Regions from separate parts of the Homo sapiens genome. Here region 1 is linked to region 2. Evidence: promoter capture Hi-C in 16 types of primary human blood cells and fetal thymus (Javierre and others, 2016). All regions are on one chromosome and are shown on one strand. The core of a region is centred on a gene start or on the middle of the fragment in contact, and the rest is flanking DNA. Distances in the headings are between cores, read along the strand shown. Region 1 overlaps SLIT1 (slit guidance ligand 1). Region 2 holds the start of SLIT1 (slit guidance ligand 1).

Region 1 (3,537 bases), core at 477-2,976, 96 kb after region 2:
ACAATCTCAGCAGTGACCTGTGCCAGAGCTGCCTTGACAGCAAGCCTTCACAAATGTCACTGCGTGCTAGTCTTTCTTGCTCCTTGTGGGTGGCCTGGTTCGAGCAAAAACTTGAGATAAATGTAAGAAGATGAGGCAATGGTTAGCCGAAAACCTTCCTTTCTGCCAAGGTTGCCCTTTGTCCTTTACTAGTGTGTGAATTGTGAGCAAGACTTCTCGCCACTCCTGGCCTCAGAGTTAGTTCTGGCCTGTAAAAGACTGGAGCTTGTTTAGATCATTTCTAAGGCTCTTTTCAACTTGGGAACTGCAAGGGCACTTAGCCTATGGGCTTGGCATTGGACAGAGGGGGGTCCAAGCCCTGTTTGTGCTCCTACGAGCTCTGTGCACTTCAGCCAGCAACCTGACTTCTCTCAGCCTCGGTGTTCTCATTTGCAAAAGGAAGATAAAAACATGTTCAAAGTATGACTGTAAACGAGCTAGAAGTGTGACTGTCATACAAATATAAAGCGGTATGTGCCAAAAGTTTACATTTAATTCATGAATGAAGGGACCAGCAGGATGGTAAAGTTGTTTCAAGGAGAATTTGGGGGGCTGAGAGCTTATCATCAGTGAAAGACAGGGAACACTGAAATAAAACTACAAAGTTCAATACAAAATTGGTTAATGTTGGACATGGTTAATAAACTAAACCTTGAGGTTATTTTTTCTACCAGACAGTAATGATTTGCAACTCTACCACACAAAAATCTACAAGTTCGTGTGTAACTGCACAGAGGACAGACCCTAATCAGTAGTGGATAGTGAGACAAAGGTGAGTCCCCTAAGGAACCTGGCTCACTTCACGGAAAGACATGAGGAGAAGCCCCTCTCCAGGGGAGAAGATGGCAGGAGTGGTGCATGGAGCGTGTCTGAGCACATCCACACTAATTGGTTTTCAGATGCAGCTGCAAAGTTCATGTGAAATGGAAAAAATCAAATCTGTGCTTTGAATCCATAGCACTTGCCTTTTGCAAGAGGCAAATTCTCAGTATGGGGATAGGTGATAGAATGATATCAAACCGGAGTGAACAGAGTAGCTATCTTCTCAGCTGATGTCAACGAATGATCTCAAGTGTATCACAAAGTAGTTTTTCCTCCAGCACTGCCTGTGACATTGAACAAACCCCTCCTGGGGCAGTGAGGCAGGGGCAGATGTGCTCTGCCGCCATACTGAGAACCGGGGCTGCCCCAGGGGCTTGCTTGCCACCCCCTTCAGCACTAGCAGAGGGCCACTTTCATGGATGGAGCGTGGGCTTAGGAGGCAGCAGCCAGGGCCTGCCAGGGCCCAGCACCCGCTGGACGACTTGGGGCTTGCAATTTCACCTCTTCTGTGAAAGCGCCAAGGTGCAGAGCCTGGTGTGGTGCAAGCACTCAGTGAAGGGAGCTGTTGGTGGCACCCTCTTCCGCCCTTTTCCACCCTGTGGCAGCGCTCAGTGTCCTCATCTTAAAAATTTTACCTCTTAAGGCTGTTAAGAGGGTTGCTTCTTGCTTTCACTGCCCCCCCCAACACCCTATAATCCAGTTGCCTCCCAGAAACCAGTTCTCCTTATAAAATATCAGCCAGACCCTGCTGCTCTCCTGCTAATACACTCCAACTCACTTTGAGTCCAACTCACATCCCAGCCATGCCTCCGAGGCTCTCCGTGACCCAGTCCCTGCCTATGGCTCTAGCCACCACCTTCTTTCTATTCCCTGACACTTCCAGCTCTTGCCCACCTCACGGCCTTTGTGCCTGCTGGTTCCTCTGCCTGGGACGCTCTTCCCAGGACTCTGCTTGGCTGCTTGCTTCTTGTCACTTCGTTTCTCCCTTGACAGACAGGGAAGCCCACCAACCACGCGGGCTGCAGGGGCCCCTGCTTCCCACTCCCTCTCCATCCTGCTCCTGTTCTGTTTCCTTCACGGCACTCCTCCATCTCTGAAATCATGTGGGTGGTTTTTGGCTCCCCCACTGGGATGGAAGCATGGAGCTCCCTTGCCTTGGTTGCTGCTCTGCCTAAGCCCGTGGTCCGGCCCTGAGAATGGAGAGGGCCTGGATGAACAGCAGCGGCGAGGATGCTGGTGACAGACACATGTGCCAGCAGGGACTGAGCTGAATGCTTCACATGCTTACTTATTGAATCCCCACCACAGCTAGATACTGTTACTATTTGTTATTCCCATTTTATACAAGAAGAAAGAGAGGCACGGAGATGTTAGGGGACAAGCTCAGAGTCACCCAGCTAGTGAGAAGCAGAGCCAGGATTCAGCCCAGACAATCTGGCTCCAGAGTTTCTGCCCTTAACTGACATGTGAAATGCTTGTTGGATTTGTGATGTACGAGACAGAACATGAGCCATCCTCCCCGGTGAACCCCACCCCTCCACGATGACAGGCCGTCCCTGCTGGCCTTGATCCCTCAGCCTACTCCCCCAGCTGAAGCCTCCCTCCCCCAGCCATGAGTAAGGACAGGACACCTTCCACCGCCTCACAGGGATCTGATTCAGATAGGGCTGCAGCGGCCAGAATTCCATTCCCACCTCTGCCTGGGATTAGTCACACAGGACACATCCCCGTGGGCAGGTCACCTGCAGGCTTCACACTCATCTTCAGAGTCTGACACCTCCAGCCATGGGCAAATTATCTCTCTGCGCAGTCAGCCCAGAGAGACGGAGTAGCAGAGCCCTGGAGCCGAGGGCCCCAGCAGCCCCACGCTGCGTTCTTTTCATTTGCACCTTAGCTGGCTGTCAGGTGCGACAGGGACTCACTGCCACCCCTCACTGCTGCAAAAAGCGAAGTCCCAAGGCTTCCCAGCTCAGAGCCTCACCCCCAGTCGTGGGGGGCTTGGCCTCTCCCTGTGTCTTCCTGTCTGACTCTGTCTTTTTTTTCTTCTTTCACTTCTGTTTCTTTTGTATTCTGTTTTTGCACTTTTCTCTTCATTGGTCTCCTGGCTCTGGACTGCCTCCCTTTCTCTCTCTGTCTCAGATTCCCTTGCCTTTCCCCCAGATGCTGCACTGTGGTGGCACTGGCACCTGGGAGCTGGCTGCTGCTCCTGCAGGGCTTCAGCCATTGCTTTCCTGCAGTTTCTCCTTGCAGGGTGCTGCCCAGGAGTGCACCTGCAGGCTGGGCAAGTGGCCGGGGCTTCTGGCTTCTGTTTGGCCACTGCTCATCTGATAAACAAGTGTGATCCAGCCTCTTTCTTCCCTTGGTCTCTAGATCCTCCCCATGACAGCTCATGAGGATGAGGGGAGGGTTTTGGGTGGGGATGCTGACACCAAGTCACCAAAAGGTGTGGCAGACACAGTGCTTCATTCCTTTATGGACGTGGGCCCCTGCGATCCTGTCACCCACAGCCCTGGTTCCTGGCTTCTGAAGGTGCTCCCCTCACTCACTCCCCTTTCTTTTGTTTTCTTTCCTACCAAAAATGTTAGCAGGATGCAGAGATTTGGGCACATCCACACAGATGACACATAGGTGTCTTTGCTCAACTGTCTAAATTTAGTAGCAAACTTTCACCCATGC
Region 2 (3,476 bases), core at 278-2,777:
TGGAGGTCATGGACAGGGATGTGTGAAAACTTTAAAAGAACTGTCAAAAGCCCATAAAATCAGCCACCTAAATTGTAACATACTGTGCTATGACAGTAGAGAGACTGCAAAATTCTCATCAACATGGAAAAGAAAAGCAAAGAAAACGCCTGAGCCTTGGGTACCTGGTGGGTGATAAGGCTTCAACCTTGTGGAGTCTATCAACCTCCCCTATCCCCACCCTGCCCGACACTCTCCCCACCAAATGCGTCCATGCTGTGTCTGGACCCAGGCCGCTCCTGAGACGGGAGGTGCTTCTCGGGCTACCCAGCTGTGTCCTCTTGCCAAGCAGCCTCACGTCAAGGCCCCGACTGCTGGACACTGCCCCAGCGAGCCACAGCTGTCCTTGGCGTTGAGGAGATCTTTCGTCTTTTCTGGGGTTGAGGAGAATTCTCTCCCCACCTGGATGTCCCGTTCACACCCACGTCCACACATGCCTTACGGTGACGAAGGTCCCTACCCAGCCGGGTGTGAGGCCTGGGTCTGACGGGGCTGGCCTGTGGGGTTCTCTCCCAAGCAGGCCGCCCAGCGCTATGCCAGCCCTCTCTGTCTCCTTTGATGTCAAGATGGAATATTCATTTTCATCTGTTTCCACCTGTCAGAAATGGAGGAACGCTGGTGTGAGTGGAGGAAGACGTTTGCCAGATTTCCAAGTCCCCTTAATGTCTGTCCCTCTCTTCTACAACGGGGGAAGAAGCCCGTGTAACTGTATGGTACAAATACGCCCTGCTGAGCAAGTGTTCCAATCAGAGCCATTCTCATCCTGGGCATGCGGCTAGCTTGTTCCCCTCTGAGAAGTGGGTGCATTGAGGTAGGAAGGAGACTGTACTCCGCCTAGCGCTTTCGTGGACCCTCCCCCCCGACAAAGCTCCATCCTCAAAGTCCAGGCTAAGTAAGGTTGGTGGCTTGAGGATGCTACCTGGGGCACAGGCACAGGGTTTCCCTTAACCAAGAATTGACACAGCGAGTCGGGTGGGGCCGAGAGGCCGCTGCTGCCGTCGGGGGATGGGGGGAAACGGGTCTGACTCCCCGGGAAGGCGTCCAAGCGGCAAAATAAGATCTCCCTCCCACCCTGGACTAGCAGCTGGGGCCGCGGGTGCCGGGGTGCGTGCGTCTAAATGTGCGCATCCTCGCCGTGTGTGTGTGTGTGTGTGTGTGTGTGTGTGTGTGTGTGTGTGTACAGCCAGGACTTGGCGGGTCGAGTCACACCCCCTTCCCTCTTCTCCCATCCCCCGCAGCCCCGTGCCCGCTGACGGCGCCTCGGAGGTTCCACCTTTGAAACTGTAGGCGGCTTGCAGCCGCTGAGTGGTCGTCGGGAGAGGGGGGCTGCGGCGGGGGAGGGCGGGGAGGAGCCTGGCCCTGGATGTGTGCTTTTCGATTGATGGATGACTGCCGGGTGGGAGCGAGCGCGCGGGTGTGTGTGTGATCGTGTGTGTGTGTGTGGTGTGTGCGCAGGGTGCGTGCGCGCGCGGGGCCTGCCCATTTTCCTCCTCGCAGCAGTCAGTTGGGAGCTGGAGGGAGGGAGAGGGAGACGCAGGCGGCGAAACGGCAGAGGAGCCGAGCCCCCTCCGCCCAAGGCGCCCTCCCTCCGTCCGCGCACAGGCGCCGTCGCTTGGAGGAGCAAGGTGCCTCCCAGCCCGCAGGGGCGCCGCGCGCAAGCCCGCGGGCTCTTCGGTGGCTCTGCCCCGGGACTGCACCTGGAGGCGGCCCCGGACGGGGATGGTCAGCGGCTGCTGCCGTCTGGCTCGCGAGCGGGACGCTGTGAGGGCACCATGGCGCTGACTCCCGGGTGGGGGTCCTCGGCGGGGCCGGTCCGGCCGGAGCTCTGGCTGCTGCTGTGGGCAGCCGCGTGGCGCCTGGGTGCCTCGGCGTGCCCCGCCCTCTGCACCTGCACCGGAACCACGGTGGACTGCCACGGCACGGGGCTGCAGGCCATTCCCAAGAATATACCTCGGAACACCGAGCGCCTGTGAGTATGGTCCCCGCCCCTGGCTCCCTGGCTCCGAGGTTGCCCTCCCACCCAGACGCAATTCCGGACTTGGGGGTGGGGGCAGGACCATTGGGGCCCGTCCGGGCTCCGCAGCCCACAGACGGGTCAGTGCCTGCCGGGGTCTTTCCCGAGCCAGGAGCCAGGAGCGCCGTGGTTTCCCCATCCCTGGGATTCAAAGGGCCCTCGGCGGGGTTGTCAGCTTCCGTCCTCACACCTGCACCCTGCACCCTGCACTCCGCACCCTCAGGCCCTCCTCACTGCGCCAGCGCTTTATTCCTCCAGGGTGCCTGCGAACTGGTGTCAGAAAGCCTTCCTTGCACCCAGGAGGGACACTTCCCACACTCGCCAAGCACAATGTCTCCTTTTGGGCACATGGGGCTACGGCCGCGTTCTGAGCCAGCTGCGCAGATTCCCGCTCCCAGAGCTTGCTCCTGACGAAGGGCAGCAGGGTGGGATGGAGGCGAAGTTTCTGGTCTGCCCCTTCTTCTCCATTGTTTGCCCCAGAGCCTTGAGAATTCTTCCCCTGCAGGTGCCACGCGTTGGTCCCCTACTCACCCGCCTCCCTCCACACCCAGCCATCCCCAACACAGGCAGACAATGGGACCTGAGGGCTTTGGGTATGGGGCTTGGGGTATGTAACATTCAGCACCCGAAAAGGGGCAGGTGTGTCTTGGATGGAGAACCCGGTGGATAATGCCAAGAAGTCAGGAGCTTGGAGAGGGGGGCCCAAGGTTAAAGATATTGACCATGACAAGTAATAAAAAAATAGCATTTCTCTTCCCCTGTTCTGTCTCACTTGTGAATTCTTGAGGAAACTTGATCCTTTTCTTTTCTAGACCCAGTAAGCTAGTAGAATGTGTGTGTGTGTGTTTGGGTGTGTTTGAGTGTGTGTATTTACAGACCTTTATACTTTGTTTTCTGTGACTCTCCTGCAGAATGTGTTTCTGTGTGAATTCCTAGTATTAAGGGGCCACCTTAATAGCGTGAGGCCATGAGAGTCCCCGTAATGGGCTGTGTGTGTGTAGATTTTGGTCACATGCAGGGCCTTTGTACTGCTCGCAGAGGTGACTACACCAGGAGATTTTTGAACAGGGCTTTGGAGAAGGCTGCTGGCTCCTTTGAAACCTACCTACTCCTCCTTCCCACACTCCTCGGTGACTGCAGTGGCTCTCAGGAAAGGTGTGCATATTTTGATAACTTTCGAGCACATTTTCATGGCCCCCAGCTGGTCAGAGACAGAAATCTGACCCTGAGGAGAGCTGTCTCCCGAATCAGACTCTGTACCAAGGCCAGCAATTAGTGAGCACACATTTGCCCCAGACTCTTCTTGGCTGCATCTGAAAAATTCCCGTGGAGGTTTTAGAGAATTTGCAATCTAGATGCAATCTAGATGGGAAGTGTGTGTGTGTGTGTGTGTGTGTGTGTGTGTGTGTGTGTGGTGCATGTG

Evidence for each region. The method cuts DNA at HindIII sites, captures the fragments that hold promoters and counts their contacts. A CHiCAGO score of 5 or more calls a contact.
Region 1: a fragment that was not itself captured here is called in contact with the fragment with the promoter of SLIT1 in region 2 in 3 of 17 cell types (M1 macrophages, M0 macrophages and fetal thymus); the score reaches 6.3 in M1 macrophages.

The regions. Positions count from the first base shown.
Region 1 is chr10:97,088,605-97,092,141 of GRCh38, reverse strand. The region is part of intron 4 of SLIT1 (slit guidance ligand 1); the gene reads left to right. Among named protein-coding and RNA genes, the nearest start is that of SLIT1-AS1, 12 kb to the left of the region's middle. RefSeq lists an enhancer at 821-1,438. The HindIII fragment of the contact is 4,491 bases long and covers 1-3,537 here.
Region 2 is chr10:97,184,010-97,187,485 of GRCh38, reverse strand. It overlaps SLIT1 (slit guidance ligand 1), which reads left to right and starts at 1,527. Exons shown (of 37, transcript NM_003061.3): 1 at 1,527-2,008. The coding sequence starts at 1,812. The region is part of intron 11 of ARHGAP19-SLIT1 (ARHGAP19-SLIT1 readthrough (NMD candidate)); the gene reads left to right. RefSeq lists enhancers at 682-1,182, 1,183-1,683. The HindIII fragment of the contact is 4,998 bases long and covers 1-3,476 here.